Linked DNA regions of Homo sapiens: regions 1, 2 and 4 are each linked to region 3. Evidence: promoter capture Hi-C in 16 types of primary human blood cells and fetal thymus (Javierre and others, 2016). All regions are on one chromosome and are shown on one strand. The core of a region is centred on a gene start or on the middle of the fragment in contact, and the rest is flanking DNA. Distances in the headings are between cores, read along the strand shown.

The links. The method cuts DNA at HindIII sites, captures the fragments that hold promoters and counts their contacts. A CHiCAGO score of 5 or more calls a contact.
Region 1: a contact is called between a fragment that was not itself captured here and the fragment with the promoter of ELOVL6 in region 3, in 15 of 17 cell types (erythroblasts, megakaryocytes, total CD4 T cells and 12 more). The highest score is 13.8, in erythroblasts.
Region 2: a fragment that was not itself captured here is called in contact with the fragment with the promoter of ELOVL6 in region 3 in 5 of 17 cell types (M2 macrophages, megakaryocytes, M0 macrophages and 2 more); the score reaches 7.9 in M2 macrophages.
Region 4: a fragment that was not itself captured here is called in contact with the fragment with the promoter of ELOVL6 in region 3 in 2 of 17 cell types (monocytes and total CD4 T cells); the score reaches 5.4 in monocytes.

Annotation. Positions count from the first base shown.
Region 1 is chr4:110,507,134-110,510,498 of GRCh38, reverse strand. ENPEP (glutamyl aminopeptidase) reads right to left here. Exons shown (of 20, transcript NM_001977.4): 5 at 692-846; 6 at 141-254. Among named protein-coding and RNA genes, the nearest start is that of ENPEP, 33 kb to the right of the region's middle. RefSeq lists an enhancer at 2,819-2,988. The HindIII fragment of the contact is 3,342 bases long and covers 1-2,921 here.
Region 2 is chr4:110,490,656-110,493,587 of GRCh38, reverse strand. ENPEP (glutamyl aminopeptidase) reads right to left here. Exons shown (of 20, transcript NM_001977.4): 3 at 2,424-2,555. Among named protein-coding and RNA genes, the nearest start is that of ENPEP, 16 kb to the right of the region's middle. The HindIII fragment of the contact is 1,122 bases long and covers 799-1,920 here.
Region 3 is chr4:110,197,360-110,200,364 of GRCh38, reverse strand. ELOVL6 (ELOVL fatty acid elongase 6) reads left to right here and starts at 1,750. Exons shown (of 4, transcript NM_024090.3): 1 at 1,750-2,118. The coding sequence starts at 2,030. RefSeq lists an enhancer at 1,377-2,169. The HindIII fragment of the contact is 10,784 bases long and covers 1-3,005 here.
Region 4 is chr4:110,532,353-110,535,553 of GRCh38, reverse strand. The region is part of intron 11 of ENPEP (glutamyl aminopeptidase); the gene reads right to left. Among named protein-coding and RNA genes, the nearest start is that of ENPEP, 58 kb to the right of the region's middle. The HindIII fragment of the contact is 1,239 bases long and covers 1,081-2,319 here.

The DNA.
Region 1 (3,365 bases), core at 1-2,500, 310 kb before region 3:
TCCACCCTATCCTCACAGTGGAATTCCCCGCTCACCACTGTACTTGCCATCTGACTCGGGACCATTATCATAGTCCAAAGGCTTCCATCTGCTTTGCATGAGGAAAAGAGAGATTTCAAGTTTATGTGTTTAGGACTCACCATTTGCCAGTCTGTTTCTGCATGGTTTACTCCCAGAAACTCAAAGAAAGAAGCAAATCCTTCATTTAGCCACAAGTCTTCCCACCAGTCCATGGTCACAATATTTCCAAACCACTGAAATTATAAGCAATAAAGAGATAATTACATTCTTATGGGTATGGTAGAGAGGCCTAGAAAATGTCAAAACATTTATTTGTCCGTGCCAATGTTGTCACTGTGACAGAAGTGGCAGGCATTGTACTTAACATTTATTTCCTGCTTTATTCTGATTATTTAAATGATATTAAATTGTCTTTAGTTTATTGCCTTTATTTAGTTATTACTGGGGTACATAAATTTATATGAAGGCCTCGTGCATATTTCCTAAAGGCAAAACAATGTGGTTCAAAGTCTCTTTATGGCTAAATGTTTATTAGTACCAAGAAAGATTTTCATGCAAGTTTTTCTGAGTTGGCTATTTTTTATTTGCTAAGTCATAAATAATTTGAATTATTCCTGTGGTCTTAAGCCACTTTAAAAAAACAAGCTGATTCAGTGCTAAGATTCTGTACCTGATGCACAAGTTCATGGGCAACCACAGTGGCCACCCTCTGTTGGTTTGATGAGGCTGATTCCTTAGGGTCATAAAGCAGGTTCGTTTCTCTGTACGTGATGAGTCCCCAGTTCTCCATGGCACCAGTGCCAAAATCTGGAATAGCGATTTTATCTATAGAAGAAGAAAGAGTCCAGTGAGAAATACATTCTTTCCATTTGTTCATAGCTTTTCTTACCAAATTAAGTTATTTGGATGAATGTTTTTTAAAAGCCTAAAAATAATTTCTTAGAGTAAAGAACTGTAATCATGTGTGCGAACATTTCAGTCCTAATGCACTCAAAGTTTCCATAGAGCATTCCCTGCTGGCTCCAGATATCAATGCTTTGTTTTTGTTTTAAAGAAGGACACTAATGGCAATGCCTCTATAATTTTATGTCTTTTGTTTCTCTCTGTATTTCATTTTTATTAGCTACATGTGTTTTAGGGGATAAGCCGTGAGGAAAAAGAGAAGTTTTCAAATTAGTATTTAGAAGTTCTGAGCTTCCAAGTGTATAGATACAGTTTTCCATCCAAAGACACAGATTATTCAAGAATATAAAACTCCATTTTTCTCTAATTCTATAAAATATTGATAGAAATACCAATCTAATAGCTTATCATCCGCTTTTATGTATTAAATTGGTTGGAGAAACATGGAGTTGACTATATTCTCTCTAGATTCCCTTACAGTTCTAAAATGTTGGACAGGAGTTTCTATAGTCTTACACATAATATCTGACAGGAGGAGGCAGTGTTGATCAGTTCTATGTTAAATCCCAAGACAGAAAATGCTCAGATGATTAGTGGCCAAAATACAGCTTCCCCAGTTAATGAACTGTAAACAGAATGTAATTTCTTTATTATTATGTATAATTTAAATGAGGCACAGAAATGAAAACAAATTGATTTTTCACTTAACATATAAGAGAAGGCCCTTTCTTTCTGGTTAAAATAAATATTCTTTCTTTTTTTTTGAGACAGAGTCTCGCTCTGTTGCCCAAACTGGAGGGCAGTGGTGCGATCTCGGCTCACTGCAAGCTCTGCCTCCTGGGTTCACGCCATTCTCCAGCCTCGGCCTCCTGAGTAGCTGGGACTACAGGCGCCCGCCACCGCGCCTGGCTAATTTTTTGAATTTTTAGTAGAGACGGGGATTCACCGTGTTAGCCAGGATGGTCTCCATCTCCTGACCTCGTGATCCACCCGCCTCGGCCTCCCAAAGTGCTGGGATTACAGGCGTGAGCCACCGCACCCAGCCAAAATAAATATTCTTAGAGCTTTTTATAAAAGAATGAAGAGGGATGTATCTTAAGTAGAGGTCAAGATTACAATAGTAGTTTCCTTTTCATGTTATCTCATTTTTAGGTTTGGTTATTTTATCACAAGACAGTCATTTCAAAAGTAGAGAAGTATCTCCCCCAAGGGCCAATATTTTTCATAATGTTGTGGAGTGCAGTTTGCACTTAATCCTTGAACAAAAGGAATTTTTTGCAATCTCATTTTTTTTTTTTTTTTTTTGGTCAGTACTGGCATTGTAACTAACTAATTCTTGTATATTTAACTCTTTGGAGTCTAATAAATGCAGAAGTCACCTCTAAGGAGTCTAAGATATAATTAATTCTGAGAGGGTTGAAAATGCACATAAAACAGAATAAAGGAGTTGGGGAGAGGGAGAAAGAAAGAGAGGAGAAGAGAGTAATAAATTTGTGAGATTTCCACTTCTCAGGTTATCCTGGGTGCTACAACTGAGATAAAAGGCAAAGGATCTTTAAATTCATGTGTACAATATTTTATTAAATATTATTCTGATATTTTTAAATTGAGATGAGGTCTTCTGTCACCTAGACTGCAGTGACACAATCATGGCTCACTGCAGCCTCAACCTCCTGGGCTCAAGTGATCCTCCCACCTCAGCCTCCTGAGTAGCTGAGACTACAGGTGTGTGCCACAACACCTGGCTAATTTTTGTATTTCTTGTAGCGATGGGGTTTCACCATGTTGCCAGGCTGGTCTTGAACCTCTGGGCTCAAGCGATCCGCCCGCCTGGGCCTCCCAAAATGTTGGGATTACAGGCGTGAGCCACTGCACCTGGCCCAATATTCTGATTTTGATGAAAACTTGTTTCTTTTTCCAGCTCCTTCTCTAACATTTGTTAAGCAATCAAAAAATAGAATTGTATCCATTGAAGAGACATGCAGCATCTACAAGCTTGCTCTGAGCCACAGCCATTCCCATGCAGAGAATTTTGCATTCCCCTTGTGTGCATTGATAAGTTATTAAAGTAAAGGCAGAAACAGATACAGGGAGGCCAACTGTTGGCTAATTTGTTTTCTTACTGCCTTCATTTCATCCCTACAAACATCTATATGGGTGTTATATTTAAAGTCTTTGTTAATAGCTCTCGAGCTTATTAATAAAGCATTTCCACTATTGATAGAAATGTCATATGCACACCATTTTGGTTGTAGCCCCACTTTTGCTTTATGAAGAATGCATGTCTCCCTCTGTATTAGAAAAAATTATTGCTGGAAGGAGCACCAGTATTTCATTAAACTGCTGGGGAATCTAGAATTTGCCTTGTACAACAATGGAAAGACTGGAAGCACATGGGGCTCTTACAACATCATTTATCCCTATTATTTTTTAACTCGCTG
Region 2 (2,932 bases), core at 110-2,609, 290 kb before region 3:
CCCCACTGTTTTTTCAGGAGGGGAAACTCTGGCTGCCTGTCTTCTATGGAAGGGTTGGAGGAAGGGGAAAGTGGCATATCTCATTTTCTTGTAATTTTTCTGGCTCAGAGCCTCTGAGAAGTTTCAAAAGGGAATTTGGCTTCTGTTGATCTCTTATAAAATAGATGATTGGACAGTAATGTATTAAAACAATATTATGTTTGTTTCCCTCCCAAATGATGGAATGCATCACTTATTTAAAACAAAATGTTATGCTCTTAGTTTTCATAGAAGAACCATTTAAGAAATAATTACCACCTACAGGACATTTTGGGATCTTTTGCAAAACTGTATTTTTTCATTATATCACTTCAAATCCTTTATATAAAATCCATCCTAAGAACCCAGCTAACTAACTGGTACAGGCTCTAGTGATTTACCTAGTTAGTATAATATTACAAGTAAATGTCCTTGGTCAGAGGACCTGGTGATAGAGTCATATTGGAAATTCAAGCTCACTGTCACTATTAGAAAATAACTCCAAGTACTATGTCCTCTGCTGATTGGTTAAATGCATTGTTCTTACCTATGAGACTTTGTCATCTTTAGTACAATTGCTTAGCCTTTCTGTTTCCTCTTGGTATTTCTACCTCAAATAGAAAAATTTGCTCAGAATGTAATAATAATTTTTAAAACTTGGTATGGGAAACACCTGCACATGATGAAAGACAGTCATGCAATTGAATTGTCAATGATGAAGAAAGCAGCTTCAGATGAAAATTGCATGTTTGTTATGAGACGGAAAGAAAAAACCAAGCTTGACTAATGTTCTCACCTCTATATTAAGCAAGAGGAATGCCATCGACTGCACTCAGCACAATCTAGAAAAAACAACTTCCTATTTCTGATGCCATTTCCTTTTCATACCAGTATTATCTATCAGCCACTAGTAGTTCCCTTTACCACGACTGAAGGTTGCATCAAAGCAACCTATGTGTCAAGGAAAAGTTAGAATACGGATGAGTCCTCATGATATGCAGCCCCTTTGAAAAGGTCTGTGGACATCCCCCACTCGCTATAATTTGTATACGGTATAGGCAGCATGCTGGCAACCCAGGTTGAGGACATCTGAATATCAACTCCTACCACACCAAAGCAAAGGCAAATTTTCCCTTTGTTCATTTCACAGAAATAGAGGAACCCATCCCCTCTCCTCCAGTGACTGATGAAGAGGTAAAGATATTTTCAGAATATCACACATCAGAAGGCTAAGCAAGATACAGTATCTGGAAGGAGTTTGGAATTTAAGTTTCTACCACTTGCCAGCTGGGTAATCTTGAATAAATAGCCTAAATTTATTAAACTTCAATTTTTCTCATCTCTAAAATGGGGGTGATGATTTCCTCCTTATAAAATTATATTGCAAAGATGATGAGGCTTTATATATATGACATATATGGCACAGAGGTGAATTAACTGGCTTACTAGACAACCTAAACATATGTTCAGGATATAAGCAAAATGGGGGCCTCCAAAATGAAAAAATTAATTAGGTAAAAGTATGTGGTTCTTCAAAAGAAAACGATTGGGCCAGGCTCGGTGGCTCATGCCTGTAATCCCAGCACTTCAGGGGGCCAAGGCCAGTGGGTCACCTGAGGTCAGGAGTTAGAGACAAGGCTGGCCAATATGGTGAAACCCCGTCTCTACTAAAAATACAAAAATTAGCCAGGCGTGGTGGCGGGTGCCTGTAGTCCCAGCTACTCAGGAGGCTGAGGCAAGAGAATCACTTGAACCCGGGAGGTGGAGGTTGCAGTGAGCTGAGATCGTGTCACTGCACCCTAGCCTGGGTGACAGAGCCAGACTCCGTCTCAAAAAAAAAAAAAAAAAAAAGAAAGAAAGAAAACTATTGAACTAGTCGTCTTGATATTTTTAAAAAAAGCTTATTTATATTTTATCATACTTTTAAAAAATGCTTTTGGATACTTTGTTGCTACCTATTTTGATTACATATAGGAATGGAGCCATAAACTTTTCAGTGCCTTGTCATTCGAAGGATGTTCCTTTACCTCAGGTTTCCTCCTCTCTCTCTAGTCTATATCTGGGAGAGGTACACATATACCCAAACATTTTATTACATTGGGCATACCCAAACATTTTAATATATTTGTGCTGGTATACTTAGGAGCTAGCTTTTGACTTACAGCACATGTTTCCCTTGAAATAATTTAAGGCCATAAATATCTATGTCTGTTGTGTTGGTTTATTTTTTACCTGTATCCTTTCAGCCTACATTTTTCTATGTATTATCAAGTCCACAGACCCTGGGGACTAAAGGGCTTTTCAGGCATGTTGTTTGAAAAAAAAAAAAAAAAACTACCCAAAAAAGGTAGATAATTAATTACAAATGCATAGGTGGTAAATTTTTAAAATATAATGAGACTCACAGGTTTTCCACTATTTGATATTCTCTTTACAGAGTCAAATTGATGTACAGCAAAGCACACCAGGTACGTGCTCATGGGGACAGACTTCTCAAAAGTTGTTCGAGTCCATTTATCATCCACTGACTCTTCTTTCTATTGAAAAGAAAAGATAAACTTTTATCGATCAAAATATCAATCATATATATGCAAGACAAACAAATAAACGGTTGCCCCAAACCTTGCTTTCTAGCCAGAAGTCCTTTGTCAAAGCTTAGAGGTCAAATTGTTTGTGGTGATGTTGAAAAGACTACAGGAAAATTTACTTTGTTTTTAGAACTGTTAAAGACTGACTGAATTACACACTGTATCAGGTTTTTCAGGGAGAAATAAAATTTTGAGTGGACTATCAGTTAAATAGGAGTTTATCTGTCTACACTAAACACATCATGCTGACCATAATATTTCAGAGTACTGCAATCTCCTAATGAAAAACAGACTCGTGCTCAGATATTTGCTGATTCGACTGGCAG
Region 3 (3,005 bases), core at 501-3,000:
GGCGTGGTGGTGCTTGCCTATAATCCCAGCTACTGGGGAGGCTGAGGCAAGAGAACCATTTGAACCTGGGAGGCGGAGGTTGCAGTGAGCCGAGTTTGCACCACTGCACTCCAGCCTGGGCAACAGGGCGAGACTCCTCCATCTCAAAAAAAAAAAGAAAAAGAAAAAAGAAAGACAACCCTTAATGGGGGAGATGAGGACAGTCCCTACACAGAATCTTTGGCAGTGTCAATGTATACATTAATTTGCTAATCAACTAGGCTAGCCCTTTAATCTATATATTGTACTGGATTTTAAAAATTATTTCTTTACTTTCTCATTAGACCTTCCTCTTTTTTTTTTTTGTTTGTTTGTTTGGAGACAGAGTCTCCCTCTGTCGCCCAGGCTGGAGTGCAGTGGCAGAATTTTGGCTCACTGCAACCTCTACCTCACGGGTTCAAGCGATTCTCCTGCCTCAGCCTCCTGAGTAGCTGAGGTTACAGGTGCCCGCCACCACGCCTGCCTGATTTTTATATTTTTAGTAGAGACGGAGTTTCACCATGTTGGCCAGGCTGTTTTGAACTCCTGACCTCAGGTGATCCGCCCACCTCGGCCTCCCAAAGTGCTGGGATTACTTCTGTGAGCCACCACCGCGGCCGGTCCCTTCCTCCTTTAAAAATTTTTCTCCCAGTTCCCACTTTTTGTGGGTTAGAGGCATCTAAATTGAATGAAAGTACCCTTTTTGGACTACTGGGGAGGTGGGGGGATGTTCTCAGAAGGGGAATTTTCTTTCTGGTCCTAATATCCACCTAATTTTTAAAAGCAGGGCTCCTTATTATTTTGTAAAGTTTACAATTACATCATTAGATACTTCCATGTCTCATATTTCATTTTTCCAAACTCTTGGGGGAAATGAGTGGAGGGATGGATGGAATAGAAAATAGTTTTTCCTCTTGGAGGCTGAGGGCCCAGTAGGGGTCAACAGTACATTCAGCCCTCTCCTCACATATTCTGTTCTACCTACAAGTACAGCAAGTAAAGCCAAATTTCTCATGCATGCAAATAAAGTTTTTGCATTTGGCCAGTCGGTCCAGTTCTCCTGTCAGCTTCCTTCCCCACTCTGCCTCTGTTCATTAATCCCCCCCTTCCCGGTACCTAAACCCTCCACCTAACCCAGCCCTTTCTTCCACTTCCGGCTACTAGCCTCTCTCGCCTATCCACTATCCTCACACTCAGCATCCCCTGTCTGTACGAGATTAAGGAGCTCTGCCGTCCGCAGGGCCTGGGTTAGCGTGAATCTAAGCCAGAGCTCCCGGGTGGGGGTGGGGGTAGGGGTGGGGGTGGTCCCAGAGGTAGGGCGAGGAGGTGGGAAGCGTATTCCCTTCACTGGTGATCTCAACGTAGATTTGCCCGGAGTTCTCTTGCAAGAGAGCTGGCAGGTTTTACTATTTCCCAATCGTTTACTCGCCAAGCTCTCGGGTCCACGCGCCGCGGGGATGCGCCCTGCAAGCTGAAACTTCATTCAAAGCAAGGCGGCCCACGAGGTTGGGCTTAGGGGATCTGGATGACCTCCAGGCCACTTCCTTTCTCTCTGCGCCCTTCCCCCACTCTTCCAACCACCTTCGCTGTAAACAAAACTGTCCCCCCCGGGCGGAGAGAGGTCGCGCTCTTTCGCACACTCCCTCGCCAAGGGTTAATTTCTCAAATCGCACGAGGGGGAGGAGATTTCCCTGTAGACGAGTAAAAAGGGTGATGGACAAACGTGCGGGCACTAAGACCGCAAGGCATTCATTTCCTCCTACGGTGGATGCGGACGCCGGGAGGAGGAGAGCCCCAGAGAGAGGAGCTGGGAGCGGAGGCGCAGGCAATGCTCAGCCCTGGATGTAGCTGAGAGGCTGGGAGAAGAGACGACCGCTGGAGACCGAGCGGCGTGGGGAAGACCTAGGGGGGTGGGTGGGGGAAGCAGACAGGAGAACACTCGAAATCAAGCGCTTTACAGATTATTTTATTTTGTATAGAGAACACGTAGCGACTCCGAAGATCAGCCCCAATGAACATGTCAGTGTTGACTTTACAAGAATATGAATTCGAAAAGCAGTTCAACGAGAATGAAGCCATCCAATGGATGCAGGAAAACTGGTACGTGATGCTTTCGCCTGATACTGTTCCCGGGAGCCCTGCGCGTCTTCCCGGAGTGCCTTAATGTCGGTATTCCCTGCCTGGGCGTGAATGGAGCGATGAATCGCGGGCAGCCAGCTGATCGCTGAGTTCTCGGGTCTCCCGGGTGCAGGAGACGCTGGGGGGGGGGGGGTACATGAAGCGCGAGGTCTGTGGGTGCCCCTGTGTGAACCGCGGCTACATAGGCATCTTTTATATAGATTATATAACACAGAACATATGTGTGTGCACAGGGTGATGTCTGCGCGACAGGGAAGGCGGGAGAGATGCCACAGTCCAGATCGCCTACCTGTGCTCCCCTCCCCTCCCCCGGTTTTCATCTAGATTTGGGTTTTCTCGCTTGGCCTCTCCCGCAACCGGAGTGTGAAAGGCAGTGGAGGGAGGACCTTGTCTCCTGTTGCCTTTAACCCTCTCCCGCCCGCCGCCCTTGGCCCTGGTCCTCGCTGTCTCTCCATCCCTCGTGTCCTTCCTTTCTCCTTGCAGCGCTCCTACTTCACCGTCCTCCTCTGTCTGCCGCTCCTCAGGCGGATGCCCCCTTTTTAGTACCCCTTTCCCCACGCGGTTCCCTTTCCGGTTTCATAGAGAGACCGGGTGGGAGGGAGGAGGGGACAATGAAAACAGTAATAAATGAATGAACCCGAGCGAGTGGAGCCACGCCATTATTAAGTTTCTGTTTTACGGAAACGCCTTTTGGACACACTTCTAATTCTGTGCGTAGCTGCTGATTGGAGTTCAGGCACACAGATTAAAAGCCCCTCCGTCTGCAGAGTCCTTAGGGGCTCTTCCCTAGGAAACTAATAATCAGGGAAAACACCTTTCTTGTTTACTGTAGTCCCCCCGCCAGACCT
Region 4 (3,201 bases), core at 451-2,950, 340 kb before region 3:
AGATCTTCCAAGACTTGGTTGACTAGGGCTGAACTGACAAATTGAGTTTCTAAACCAGCAAAACTGAACCCATAATCATCCAATCAAAGCTTGCACATTCCATGAGGCTTAGCTTGAAAAAATGAAGAAAGTGCTTCCCTCTTTGTCATCAAATACAAAAATACATGCCCATCATTATTTTGGTATTAAATATTTATGTATAATTATCACAGATGTTTAGTAAATCTATTTCTATAGAAACTGACTGGACAGTCTGGATAGTCCAAACCATCCAGAGGACACCCTCAAATCTGGAAGTAAGAGTTGCAAAAACAGCTATTGTAGAGTCCGCACCACCTCCTAGAACTTAGACCCAGCCCAGATCCTATGCACTTAGAAATGTCTCTTTTAAAATATTATGTTTTAGCAAGATTGGTTACCTGACACCATATAACAACCTTCAATCCTTCTAAATGTTAGAAAGCAGTAAATTAAATGCAAACAGGTGGTATGCTACTAAATGTGGATGCATTAACAATAGCCAAAATAGCAGCTGATACTAAAAGATGGAGACATAACTAAAATATATGCAGTTAACCTCTAAAAGTACAGCATTCTGGGGCAAACAACCCTTCATTAAACTAGGACTTTCTGAACTCAGAATGTACGTAGCACCTTGTTGATAATAGGGTGGACAGGAGACAAGAAATATGTGTAGTTTGTGTCATCAAGAAGCTTATAATTTAGTTGAGAAAAAAAAAAGAGAGGCCAGGCGCGGTGGCTCATGCCTATAATCCCAGCACTTTGGGAGGCTGAGGCAGGTAGATCACCTGAGGTCTGGAGTTCAAGACCAGCCTGGCCAACATTGTGAAACCCCATCCTTACTAAAAATACAAAAAAATATCCAGCTGAGGTGGCAGGCACCTGTAATCCCAGCTACATGGGAGGCTGAGGCAGGAGAATCACTTGAACCCAGGGGGCGGACGTTGCAATGAGCTGAGATCGCTCCACTGCACTCCGGCCTGGGCAACAAGAACAAAACTCTGTCCCAAAAAAAAAAAAAAAAAAAAGAAACAACGAAAAGAGAGAACATATGAAGCTTAATAACAATGATTTTGTTTAAAATATAAAGTAATAATACTAGGAATAAGGGCTGATGAAAGTGACAGGATAAAATATACTATATTTTATGACAGGAGATGATGACAGGAGAGATTATTCAGGGTAACTGGAGTAGCCAGAAAATGTTTTATAATAGAGGTTCTCTTCTTTCATTAGAAATTATGAGTTTAGTTGTTGTTTTAACGCCTAAAATAGCACATACAATAGAAATGTAAATAAAAGACCTTGGGGAGAGTCCCACTATTGCCTGAAGAATTTCTAACTAATGAATCATCAAAGAAACCAAGAGGAGGGAGGTAGGACTGGTAACATGAGCTGGTTGCCCATTTAGTACACTCAGGACATGTTCGTCATCCGTGCTCTAAGCTGAGAGCTGAAGATGTCCTTAAACAGGAAACAGGAACTTATTGTACAGCCTAAAAATGGAGCAGACACTTTGAAGTAGAAAAAGACCTCTAGTTTGCTTCTGGCTCAGTGACCAGACATGATTCTGAAGTTTCAGATAAAGGCAGATTTGTCATCAAAGCTCTGTAACTATCAGCCTCTTCATTTATTTGTTTATTCATTCATTTATTCAATAAACAATTATTAGATGCCTGCTGTAGATCCAGAACAACAATAACAAATAAGCTCCATTTCCTCTAAGAATATTCTGTGGGGAGGGGAGACATAGATAGGTCAATAGTTAGAACAAAAAAATGTGTGAAATGTATTGACAAAGGGATACGAAGGAGTGTGAGAACTCCCTGCTCTTTCACTTTCACAGTCATGCTTCTGTCCAGAGCACACGTCTCCTCTACATTCAATTTTTATCACCCATTTATACTCTATCCTTAGCCTCTGAACTCTCAGCCTAGATATTTTTTAGGAATGCTTCCTGAACCCCCAAACCTGGGCTGATGCTTCTATGAGTGCTTTTGGTGATCTGCATTGCCACAGAGGCACTTAGGACACAGCATTATGTCTGCCTGCAAACCCATCCCTAGACAACCATCTACACAAGGGTTAGGATTGCTTTTTTTTTTTTTTTTTGCTCCAGCACTGCCCCCATTCTTATCTCTGTGTTTTGCACATAAGCAATACGTGCTTGAAAGAATTAATCTAGTAATTAAGGATTAAATTTATTATTCCAAATATTCTAAGGAGTACATAACACATATTAGAACAATGTCTATTGTGAACTCTTGAAATGCATTTTACAAAGCACTTGAGTAAGCTTTAGTTATCTGGAAAATTCACTTGTATGGAAACTTCATTCCATGAAAGTGCTGGGTGAATTGTACTAGGGTAGATGAATTATTCACGCTTTCAAACTTGTAAACAGTAAATCAAACAGCTGCCGAGATATTCTTCCAATCCTCAATTAACTATGGTGACCAATGGGGAAAATATTTAGTAATAGTTAAACCAAATCCACTGAAAACCTTCCAGTGGAATTCTAACGTTCTTATTATGTCTTTTACCAGTGCTGTTACACATTGTTGAAAATGTCTTTTTTTTTTCTGTCTTCTCCCTTTTCCTCTGGCAAGTGTACTTATGAATAAGAAAATGGTCAGAAGACCACAAAAGATAGAGCCTCGCATTGAAACACAGCATAAAATACTAAAACAAAGTGGCATTGATCTGGGAATTCTGCAAAAATTTAGAATTTTTTTTGATCACGATATTACAATAATTATTAACATAAATAAGCAAGAGAGAGTTTTGTTGTAATAGCAATCCCTGTGCAGAAGGGCTTCAGAAGGATTTCACCTCTATAATGACAAAGCTGGTAGTTTGTAGTAATAGTAAAAAAAAATCACAAAAACTGTTAACAATAAACGTTTTTTTTTAAAAGGCCCAAAGGTGGAAAAAACATGCTGGATCCACAGAAAAACTTATACACAAATGTTTATAGCAGCATTATTCATAACAGACAAAAGGTGGAAATGATCCAAATATCTATCAACTGATAAATGGATAAACAAATGGTGGTATATCCATATAATGGGATATGATTTGGCAATAAAAAGGAATGAAGTAGAGTTACATGCTATATCATGGATGAGCCTTGAAATCGTTATGCTAATTGAAAAGTCACAAAATACTGCATATACACTT